2 separate regions of the Homo sapiens genome follow, and region 1 is linked to region 2. Evidence: promoter capture Hi-C in 16 types of primary human blood cells and fetal thymus (Javierre and others, 2016). All regions are on one chromosome and are shown on one strand. Each heading gives the region's core, a stretch centred on a gene start or on the middle of the fragment in contact. The rest is flanking DNA. Distances are from core to core; before and after follow the strand shown.

The links. The method cuts DNA at HindIII sites, captures the fragments that hold promoters and counts their contacts. A CHiCAGO score of 5 or more calls a contact.
Region 1: a contact is called between a fragment that was not itself captured here and the fragment with the promoter of RNF220 in region 2, in 3 of 17 cell types (megakaryocytes, monocytes and endothelial precursors). The highest score is 10.8, in megakaryocytes.

Annotation. Positions count from the first base shown.
Region 1 is chr1:44,477,158-44,482,944 of GRCh38, reverse strand. The region is part of intron 2 of RNF220 (ring finger protein 220); the gene reads right to left. Among named protein-coding and RNA genes, the nearest start is that of MIR5584, 65 kb to the left of the region's middle. The HindIII fragment of the contact is 2,558 bases long and covers 827-3,384 here.
Region 2 is chr1:44,401,332-44,407,304 of GRCh38, reverse strand. RNF220 (ring finger protein 220) reads right to left here and starts at 2,050. Exons shown (of 15, transcript NM_018150.4): 1 at 1,775-2,050. RefSeq lists an enhancer at 635-1,157. The HindIII fragment of the contact is 8,690 bases long and covers 1-2,404 here.

The DNA of each region.
Region 1 (5,787 bases), core at 856-3,355, 76 kb before region 2:
AAAAAAAAAAAAAAAAAAAAAAAAGGCTGGGTGTGGTGGCTCACTCTTACAATCCCAGCACTTTGGAAGGCCGAGGCAGGTAGATCACTTGAGGTCAGGAGTTTGAGACCATCCTGGCCAACATAGTGAAACCCTGTCTCTATTAAAATACAAAAATTAGCCAGGCATTGTGGCACATGCCTGTAATCCCAGCTACACAGGAGGCTGAGGCACGAGAATCACTGGAATCTGAGAGGCAGAGGTTGCAGTGAGCTGAGATTGTGCCACGGCACTCCAGACTGGGTGACAGAGCAAGACTCTGTCTAAAAAAAAAAAAATTTACTGAATTACCCTAGACTATGCCAAGGATAAATGTGAAGAATCCTATTTCAGATCCCCTAGAACTCAAATGCCTCATGACAACCAGAGCATAGCTCCTTTCTTCCTACAGAAAGATTTCTAGCTCCACTGAAGCTATTCATTGCTCACTGAGAGAAGGAACACAAAAATTCTTTGAAAAATATGCAGTATCTAAAAGGTGAACGGACTGGAGTTAGTATCAGTCTTCTCTCCCCACTTCCTTCAAATGTCTTCACCACAGCAACTGCCCTCCACCCCTCCTGCTCCCCTGAGAAGGGAGCCCCAGGGATCCAGACTAGACCAGGTCTGGTCTGCAGGCCGTGTATTCTTAGTTTTGTCTCATTTTTTGAACATTATTTCTCTATGGAAAAATGAATCTGTTTGGAATAGAAATCAAATATGGGTTCATGGTCAGATGGATGGGGTTTGAATCCCAGTTCTGCTACTTGTAAGTTGAGAAACTTTAGGAAAATTAACCTTTTAAGCTTCTGTTTTCTTGTCTGTAAAATGGGAATGAAATAAAACCAAAATCAAGGGGCCCAAGTACTGCATGCAGAACTTCTGGTGCAATGCCTGACACAGAGCAGGCACCCAGGAAAAGCGGGTGCTCATTGTTTTGGCTTCTTATCTCTGAATTAACTTCATCTGCTCCTTGTTCTCTCCTGTTACAACTGAGAGAATGACCCTCTTACGACTGAAGTCTAATCCCTCACAAGTGGTCTGGATTCCATCCCTTCTTGTCTTTTAAACTGCTTCATCATCTCTGTTTCTTGACTGTCAGTCTTTTTCTTTGCCTGGATCACTTCCACCAGCACACACACACATGCACTGCTATCTTCTCTCAAGAACAAAAAAGTTCTCTCTCTTGATTCCACATCCTCTCCACTTGCCATCATATTTTTCTGCTCTTCTTTTTTTCCCCCTTTATTTCTTCTAAAGAAAAACAAACCAAAGAAAAGGGATACATGTACAGAACGTGCAGGTTTGTTCCATAGGTGTATGTGTGCCATGGTGGTTTCTGCTCCTATTGACCCATCCTCTAAGTACCCCCCGCTCAACCTCCAGCTCCCAACAGGCCCTGTGTGCGTGTTGTTCCCTTCTCTGGGTCTATGTGTTCTCATTGTTCAACTCTCAGTTATGAGTAAGAACATGCGGTGTTTGGTTTTCTGTTCTTGTGTTAGTTTGCTGAGGATGATGGCCAACCCAGGATGGAGTGCAGCAGGGCGATCACAGCTCACTGCAGCCTCGAATTCCTGAGCTCAAGTGATTCCCCCTGCCTCAGCCTCCCAAGTAGCTGGGACTACAGGTGCACGTCATCAAACCCAGCTAATTTTTAAAATTCTTTTGCAGAGATGGAGTCTCACTATGTTTCCCAACCTGGTCTTGAACTCCCGGGCTCATGCAATCCTCCCACCTCAGCCTCTCAACGTGCTGGGATTACAGGCGTATGCCACCACGCTCAGTCTTCTGCTCTTCTTTATCCCCAGACACCTCCAAGGTGTTGTCTACATCTGCTGCATACATTTTCTCACCCCCTATTAGCTCTTCAATTCATGTCAACTTGAATTTGCCCTGTCATTCCACTAAACTGTTCTCAAAGTGACCTATTGCCCTCCATATTGCCAAATCCTGAAGACATGTACATCTCTGTCCTTGATCTCCCAGGAGCATTTGACGTAACTCATCATTTTCTATTTTATTTTATTTTACTTTATTTTTTGAGACGGAGTCTCACTCTGTTGCCCAGGCTGGAGTGCAGTGTTACAATCTCAGCTCACTGCAACCTCTGCCTCCCACGTTCCAGCAATTTTTCTGCTTTAGCCTCCCAAGTAGCTGGGACTGCAGGCGTGCCCCACCATGCCCAGCTAATTTTTGTATTTTTAATAGAGACAGGGTTTCACCATGTTGGCCAGGCTGGTCTTGAACTCCTGACCTCAAGTGATCCCAAAGTGTTGGGATTACAGGCGTGAGCCACTGCCCCCGGCCCATTTTCTCTTTTAAAACACTCCTTTTTCCTCCTTGGTTTTATGATCTCTATTGTCCATTCCTTCTCAGACTCCTTTCTTCTTTTCCTCTACCACATCTTTAAATGTTAGAGTTATCCAGGGCTTGGGTCTGTGCCCTTTTATTTTCTCTCTTTTACACCATTCATTTTCATTTCATCTTTTGCAATCACTTAATTAATTAATTAATTAATTTTTGAGACAGAGTCACTTTGTTGCCCAGGCTGGAGTGTAGTGGCACGATCAGGGCTCACCACAGCCTTTACGTCCCAGGCTCAAGCGTTCCTTCCACCTCAGCCCCCTGAGTAGCTGGGACTACAGGCATGCACCATCACACCTGGCTGATTTTTTTTGTATTATTAGTAGAAATGGCATATCACCATGTTGGCCAGGCTGGTCTCAAACTCCTGGACTCAAGTGATCCACTTGCCTTGGCCTCCCAAAGTGCTGGGAGTAGATGTGAGCCACTGTGCCCTGCCTTTGCAGTCATTTTAAATAGCAAGGTGCTGTTATAACTAGAACAACAAAACACAAAGATATGTGACATTGGCTTTGGGACTAGGCAAGTGGGCAGCAAGGAAGCTGGTATAAAAGCCGGGAATAATAGCAACTTGTATTATTTAGTGGTAAACTTGTGACTAAACTACAATAATTTGGAAGGCAGGAAACGTATCTTATAAACTAGCAAAGGTGAAGGAGGGGATCTTAAGGCAAAACATTGCAAGCATGAGCTGGCTGCTTTTAGCTGTATTTGATGAAGCACTAACAAGAAAGTGATAAACTCAGAAAACTGGCTAGTTTGCAAGCAGGATTCAGTGGGAATATAGAGAACCCAGAATTTGTGGGGTTGAAAAATAAAACTTTCTCATCTCCAATCTCTCTAGTAAGAGATTTTCAAATTAAGATCCATCCTGGGGCTAAAGACCTAATCCAGAGTGCGGCAAGAACGATACTGTTTCCAGGTGAAGTCAAAATCAAGAGTATTAAGCTCTGAAGGAAATCAGATGGCATCTAATAGGCTCTTGCAGCTGAAAATGAAGCTTGTAGAAAACTTAAGAGCAAGGTTCTACAGCAGCCTGACATTCCCAGTACTTAAGTCTCGGTAGATTCTGTCTTGTAAAAATTGTGGGTGTGGCTTGTGGTACATAGAGTTGATGAGTATAAAACACATAAAAATCCACAAAGTTGGCCGAGCGCGGTGGCTCACACCTGTAATCCCAGCACTTTGGGAGGCTGAGGTGGGCGGATCACGAGGTCAGGAGATCGAGACCATCCTGGCTAGCACGGTGAAACCCTGTCTCTACTAAAAATATAAAAAATTAGTTGGGCACTGGTGGCAGGCGCCTGTAGTCCCAGCTACTCGGGAGGCTGAGGCAGGAGAATGGCGTGAACCCGGGAGGCGGAGGTTGCAGTGAGCCGAGAATGCGCCACTGCACCCCAGCCTGGGCGACTGAGTGAGACTCTGTCTAAAAAAAAAAAAAAAAATCCACAAAGTTTGTGAGAGAGCTGTATTGGTGAAAGACTGCCTGCTCCAACGGAAAGAAACAGAGACTATTGAAGATGTAAAAAGATTTCTGGGGCCCCAAATTTCTACAAGTAGGCAGTAGGCTGAAAAAAGCTGCTCACCCACAAAAATTATTTAATATCTTTTTCAGAAGTGTCCATGGGTGATGTCCAAGGATGATAGAAAAGGAAGGTCTTCCAGAGGAGTGCACCAACAGCCACGGGGAACAATGGATGGGAGATCCAGAATCAGAGCCTAATCAGAGAGCATTCTCAACCCCTAGGACCGTGGGACCTGTCAACATTTGCCCAGTAGAATTTCAGAACTGCTATGGACTGGCGATTTCTGATTTCATTTCTCTCTCTCTCTTTTTTTTAGAGACAGAGTCTCGCTCTGTTGCCCAGGCTGGAGTCCAGTGGCATGATCTCACCTTGCTGCAACCTCTGCCTCCCAGGTTCAAGTGATTCTCTTGCCTCAGCCTCCCGAGTAGCTGGGACTACAGGCATGTGCCACCACGCCCAGCTAATTTTTGTATTTTTAGTAGAGACGGGCTTTCACCATGTTGGCCAGGCTGGTCTCGAGCTCCTAGCTTCAGGTGATCCACCCACCTTGGCCTCCCAAAGTGCTAGGATTACAAGCAGAAGCCACCACGCCTGGCAGTTCTTCCCTTTTTTTTTTGAATGGAATAATTTATTGCTGCTATCCTGTATTCTACCACTGTATGTTGAATGGGATTTTTTTAAGTTCTTAGGTCTTCAGATCAAGAGAAACCATATTTAGGCCTGATATACAGATGATAAGATCCTGGATCTTAAGCCAAGTACCATGATTTGAGTAAAAATTGGGGGAGGCTGCATTTGGGAGGCGGAGGCAGGGAGATCACTTGAGGTCAGGAGTTTGAGACCAGACTGGCTAACATGGTGAAACCCCGTCTCTACTAAAAATATAAAAATTAGCCGGGTGTGGTGGTGCATACCTTGTAATCCCAGCTACTTGGGAGGCTGAGACAGGAGAATCGCTTGAACCCAGGAGGCAGAGGCTGCAGTGAGCCGAGATTGTGCCATTGCACTCCAGCCTGGGTGACAGAGCGAGACCCTGTCTCAATAAATAAATGAAATAAAAACTGGGGGAGTCTTGGGATTGTGGGTGAATGTATTTTGCAGGTGGGAGGGATGTGAATATTCACAAAGAAATGTACTGTTGTAGATTAGATTATTGTTCAAAAACATTTACTCCCCAACTACCTCCATGGAGAAGTTTACCTGCTTCTTGACTTTTGACTCAGTTTTGTGATTGTTTTGGCTAATGGCACATTAGCAGATGTGACCCAAGCATGTACTTGTGTGCTTGGTCCTCCTGGAGAGAAGAGCTCTCCCCAGGTAGCTACTGTCTATTCAGCCTAAGCTGCAGAATGAACATCTTTGGATTAGACCTACTACAAGGAGCAGAGGTTCCTGGCCAAGCTGAGCTTAGATCAGATCACCTACAGATGCATGAGAAGTAAGTGCTGTTGTATGCAAAGGAGATTTTTGTGGATGCTTTTTATGTAGCAATAGCTGATTGGTTCTCATTCTTCAAATGCAAACAAGCATTTTTCTGCCTCAGGACCATTAAAATACCTGTTCCTTCTTTTTGAAATGTCCTTGCTCATTGCAGGCCTTAACTTCAGTTCTTAATTTAAATGCATTTCATCAGAGACCACTCTTGATAGATCACCCTATTATTCTAGATAGTTGTGCGATTTATTTCACAGCATTCATCCGCATTTGTAACAATAAATAATTCTATGTTTACTTCTTTTCCCCACTGGACTATAAGCCTTACAAGGGAAGGGACCATGTTCATTTATTCACCAATGCATTCCCAAAGTGTAGGATTAAGACTGGTGGATACTGGACTGCTAGTAAATATTTACTGAATGAAAGAATTTTTTAAGTGAGT
Region 2 (5,973 bases), core at 801-3,300:
CTTTTTTTTCTTTATTTTTCCTTTCTCTCCCCTTTGCCCCTCAAGCCGAGTCCGGAGCGGAGGCGAGAGGCAAGATGTGGCTGCTGGGCGTCGTGGGCAGCGAGTGCGGTGCTCTCCCCCTCGGCGGCTCCCGGGCCAGTGGGCCGGCGCAGACCCCAGACGACCCGGGCCGGCCAGGTAGGGCTGTGCCCCCACACCTATGGCCCGGGCCCCATGCACCCACCCAGTGCGACGCGCGCCTGGCTCAGGGCCGGAACACGGGCTCTCCGCTGGAGCTGCATCCACGACCCGAGAATGCAGGGTGTGCTTAACGGGAAGCGAGAGCTTTCCCCCTGCCTCCTGGCTGCCCTAGTCCCCGCTACTTCGGGACTCCTGCGCGCCCTCGCCAGCTGGGGTCGACCTGGGCCGCGAGCTCTCGGAGAGGCTCCTGGACTGGGGGATGAACCGGGCATCCCCTCGGATGGCCTCACCACCGTGGGCGGCCTCGCCCGGGGGGCCACACGGAAGCTCTCCGCCCAAGTTTGTTGTGCCCTGGAAGAAAAGGCTTTCTCTTACAAAGCACAAAGGCGAAACGCCCAGGCCGAGCCCTGAAAAGCCCCGGGTTGGGGGGCGGGGGTGGGGTGGGGGAGGCCGGAGGCTCCGGAGTGCGGTGGCGGGGCTGGGTTCCGGGCAGAGAAGGTCGCTCGGCCCGGGCTGACAAGCGCGGCGGCAGTGGCCGCAGGACCGCAGCGACCGGCGTGCTCACTGAAAAGTTTTGTTCTTAAGTCAGAAGAGAAATTGTTACTCAGTTTAAGGCAGGTCTAAGATAAAAATAAAACTACAAGTAGAGTAGTCAAGTAGCCCTCGTCTCCACGATCGTCCTCCCGCCTTGCTCAGTAGAACCGCTGGGAGAGGGGGTCCCGACCCCGAAAATCCCGGGAGATCCCACGTGTCGGGCTACTCTACGGCCAGGCCGGTCCAGCCCAGAGGAGTGGGGAGTTTACCGGTGGCGTTTAGAACGGTCCGCCTCTATGCTAGCACCTGCCTCCTTCCTGCCCGCAGAGGATCCATCCATCCTACCCCACCTCCCTCCCTCCACACCCTTCACACCCGCCCCCGCTAGGAAAAAGTCAGCCGAGCACCCGGGGTCCAGGGCTAAACAGCCACTCCCCGGGTATCCCGCGGAGCCGGCTGTGTGTGGGGTGGAGGCTGTCGGGGTAGTTTCTCATTCGGCTCGCCCCTTCTCCATCCGCCCGCCGCCTCGGGCTCCCCACTGAGTACCACCCAGCCCTGGCCTCGCCGGAAATCAACGCGGGGTACATAGGGGAGCCCGGAAATCACCGGGGGGTGCACCAGAGAGCCCGGCGAGAAGGCATTCTCGATATCGACCCGAACAAAGTGGGAATGGGGCTTATTAAGAGACGGAGAAAAGAAGTCCTGCTCCCTTCCCTTGCAGTGCCCTCACCCTCCCAACTTGTCCAATTCCCGCGTCTGGTCCCTCCCCCTTGCACCTCCCCCCCTCCCCAAATAAAACACATTAAGGAAAACTCAAGACGGAAAGTTTGAGCGAGGCAGCGCACGGAGCGCGCAGGGCGCCGATGCCGAGAGGCTCCGTCGCGATGATCCAAGACGCGCCAGTCCGAGTCCCAGTCCCTGCCCCCGTCCAGAGGGAACCGCCCGAATCCCTAGGAAACGGACCCGGAAAGTTAGCCAGGTTCCTGAACAAGCCGGCCGCCCTCGCACCCACCCCTCTTGGGTACGCACACACGTCCACACCCCTTTCTGATCTCCATACTTGCCGTGGAAATTCCTTGGGAGAACGGTCGCACTTTTCAGGACACGGAGGGAAGCAGGCGGAGAGTGTGGTGCATGAAAAGTCCCGGGTTCGCAGAGCCGGCGGAGGCAGCGGCGGCGGCGGCGGCGGCAGCGGCAGCAGCAGCAGCAGCAGTAGGCGGCTGGCCCCGGGTTTGTGTTCGCGAGCTGCCTGGGATTGCATGTACAGATCAAGAGACTCAGTTGGCGTGAGAGAAGGAGCAGTGCTGCCTCTCAGCGCTGGATCTAATCAGTGAATGAGCCTCCACTCTCCCAGGGACTCGGAGACACACACACGCGCGCACACACACACGCACGCACACATTCTCTCACACTCACACACATACAGGCACTCTGAGCACTGAATACATTAGGGCACTAAGGGACTCTGGGAAATGAAGTCCAGACCCAGGGCACTCCTGGAGAACAGACCTGCTGGCCCTCACCAAAGAGCTTGGAAGTCTTGGGGTCGCGAGCCATTGTGAACTAAAGAGAGCGTTGGCTTTTGTTTACATCCCTCCTCCCCCACCCGCAAAGGTCTCAGTGAATGGTTTCGTGCTTGTTGTTCTTCCTTTCCTGAACCAAAAGGGACCAAGAGTAAATGGGCAAAGCTTGAAGACTGACATCCACTGCTGCTTAAATGACCCCCAAATCCTGGGTCCCTCAAAATCTCTGTCTTTTCCCAGAAAAATCTTACCTGCTGCTTTGTTCCTGGAATGCTTCTCTGGGTCTTTGACTATAATAATAAATAATAAATGAATATTAATAAAACTGTAACTTTTGGAGGAGGTGAAGGCCTAGTATAGCATCCAGATGTGAGAATAAAATTTTTTATTGGTGTTTTATTGATGTTTATATTACAGTTCATTTCAGATCATTTCATATCATCCTATAATTCATCAAACACAAAGATAAACAGGGGAAATGGATAGAGAACTAACATTCCTGAGTGCTTTCTAGGAGCCCGGTTATGAGACTAAATGCCTTTACATAATTTCATTTACTCCTAAGATTAATTCTGGAGATAATAATATTACCACTAGTTTATAGAAGAGGAAACTGGGGTTGAAAGGGTTTTGTAATTTGCCCATGAAAACGTGGTTAACAAGTCTTGGATAGCAGGTAGTTCTAGTTCTGAAAGCAAAGTTCAACCAAAATCAAATCCTGGTTTAAGAAGTCATTCCTGGCCGGGCGCGGTGGCTCACGCCTGCAATGCCAACACTTTGGGAGGCCGAGGCGGGCGGAACAAGAGGTCAGGAGTTCAAGACCAGCCTGACAAACATGGTGAAACCCTGTCTCTACTAAAAATACAAAAAGTAGCCGGGCGTGGTGGCATGCGCCTGTAATCCCAGCTACTCAGGAGGCCAAGGCAGGAGAATCGCTTGAACCCGGGAGGCGGAAGTTGCAGTGAGCCGAGATCACACCATTGCACTCCAGCCTGGGTGACAAAAAAAAAAAAAAAAAAAAAAGTCATTCTTTTGTTTTGTAGTTAAGTGTCTAAAACCTCAGATTTCTCATCTGGAAAAAAAAAAGGGAGGGTGGGGAGAAATGGAGTACACACTGATAATCCACTTTACAGAGAACCACATAGGATTATAAATTGTCTAAAAAGAATGAGACTCAAAATCTCATTCTTGCTATTATTTCATTGTCCTTTTTACTTATGTTTAACATTAAGGTAGCATCTAAATATTAAGTATGTTTATGTATATGTGTGCTGTTGGTATTTTAAAATTTTAATTGGCAACTCTAAATAAATTGTTAATTTGATCACTTAGAGTTCTACATTTACAACTATTTCTATAATTCGTGATATCAGGATTATTTGTTGAGGAACTTTATTTTTATTTATTTATTTTTTTTGACATGGAATCTCACTCTCTCGCCCAGGCTGGAGTGCAGTGGTGTGATCTTGGCTTACTGCAACCTCCGCCCCGAGTTCAAGCGATTCTCCTACCTCAGCCTCCCAAGTAGCTGGGATTACAGGCATGCCCCTCCATGCCCAAATAATTTTTAGTAGAAATACGGTTTCACCATGTTGGCCAGGCTGGTCTCAAACTCCTGACCCCAAGTGATCCGCTTGTCTCGGTCTCCCAAAGTGCTGGGATTACAGGGGTGAGCCACCACGCCTGGCCTGTTGAGGAACTTCTAATCCATGTTTAATCATTCATTCATACACCAGCATTTATTATGTTAGGCTCTATTCTTTCCACTAAATTATTATTTCCTGCTGGATTGTAAACTTCATGAAGTCAAGAACCATGTTTGTTGCATTCTACATCATACCCTAAGCACCTTACAGCATCAGTCTCTTAGTTGAATGAATAAACGAGGATATAAAAATGAACTCCTGTCCTCAAAGAGCTCACCATCTAGTAGAGGAGACAAAGAAAGAGTTAGAAATCAATTTGATAACCACTGTAATAAGGATGACCTTAGAATTTATTGATCTAACTGAGACAAGTTTGATGATAAAAAAGGGACACTTTTAATAATTACACTGGGATGACAAATGTCAACAAGGGCCATCCTGGGCCAAGCAGATTGAATGGTCACCCTAGCTACATAAGGTATTTCATTCATTCATTTAACAAGCATTTATCGAGAACTCTCTTGCCTGGTGTGTTAAAGGAATTATAAGCCACTGATTTCCCTCAAAATTGAAATATGAAACATTGAGCAGCAAGAGATAGGCAGGAGAAGTGGGCCAAATCACAAAAGGCTTTGTATACTAAGCTAAGGAAAGTGGATGTTATCCTACAGATGATGAGAAACCCCTAGAGGGTTTTAGGGGTGTGACAGGGTAGGATTTCTGTTTTAAAACAAGCACTAGTTCCTGGGTGGACAAGGTGGAGGTTAGACAAGAGGCAGGGAGGCCAATCAAAAAGTCTATCTCAAGTAATTCAGTTGAGATGAAGTAGGGCCTGAACCAAGGTACTGGGGCAGAGTGAGTGGAGAGGAGGGGACACATTACAGTGAGATCTAAAAGGTAGAATCAACAGGATTTAGCCATTTTAGTATGGTGGATGAAGGCAGAAGGAAGACTCTATATAAATCCTAAATAAGATTTTATTATTTATAGCAAAAGATGTTGTCAGTACTTTAATGTTTATCAGTAGTAAAAGGCTCCCTCAGACTAACTTAGAGAGTTCCCGTAGATCCAGTGCACATTCTCACAGATAGATGATACAGATAAGAAGGCCTGTTCAATCATCAAGCCAAATATTTTTAGCTGTTACCACATGCAGTGGTCCTCACTACGATGCAAGTACTCAGAAACTAGAATTAATCACTGTCTATAACAGCAATCTAAACGAATAAATTAAATGCAAATCCCTCATAAAATCAGAGCAAAATTATGTAATGCAAAATTGAATATGTAATACCTCACTAATTCACAGGTCATATGTCCAGCAACCTCAGCTATCCAAAACACAATGAAGCAGGAAATAAGCAAAAAGGGTCCCAGAATAGCCAAAATAAACATTACAAAGTCCATGCACTAAAGTTAACACATTTCCCTCCTAGGAGAATTACACAAGCCTTCATTCAGAGCCGATTTATTCTTTCTTAGGTACAATTCTAATAAGCTTGATTATTTGGCTTTCCCATTCACAGCTGATTAAGATTGTCAAATTAAAAGGGGGCAGCCATTAAAAAGAATGATATAGACTAGGATGTATTGACATAGAAGGATACCTATTATATACTGTCGAGTGAGAAAAGCAAGTCATACAACAGTATGTACAATATGATTTGATATTTGTCCGTATACGTGTACACACACATTGACAGAAAAAGGCCTGTAGGGATACATTAAACCGTTAACAATGGTTATGGCTAGGGAGTGAAAGTGTGGACGTGACAGGGTGGGGGGTTAGACAGGAATGAAGGGAGGACTTTGACTTTTTACTCCATAGACTTCTGTTTGTTTTCAGTGAACATATATTAGTTTTGTAATTTTAATATCCGTTAAAACGTATATAAAAAGAGCAAAGGGTAGTGTTGTTAGAGCAAGAACACTGACAATGAGAAATGGTGACCGAACTATAAGAAGCAAGCACCATAACTCAAAAACTACAACAAAATAGGGTTATTTGGTGTGAAGGCAAAAAGCCCTATCCCATCAGTGCTCCCAGCGGATGTCATGAATTCCAACCAAACATATCCTGATACTTTTGG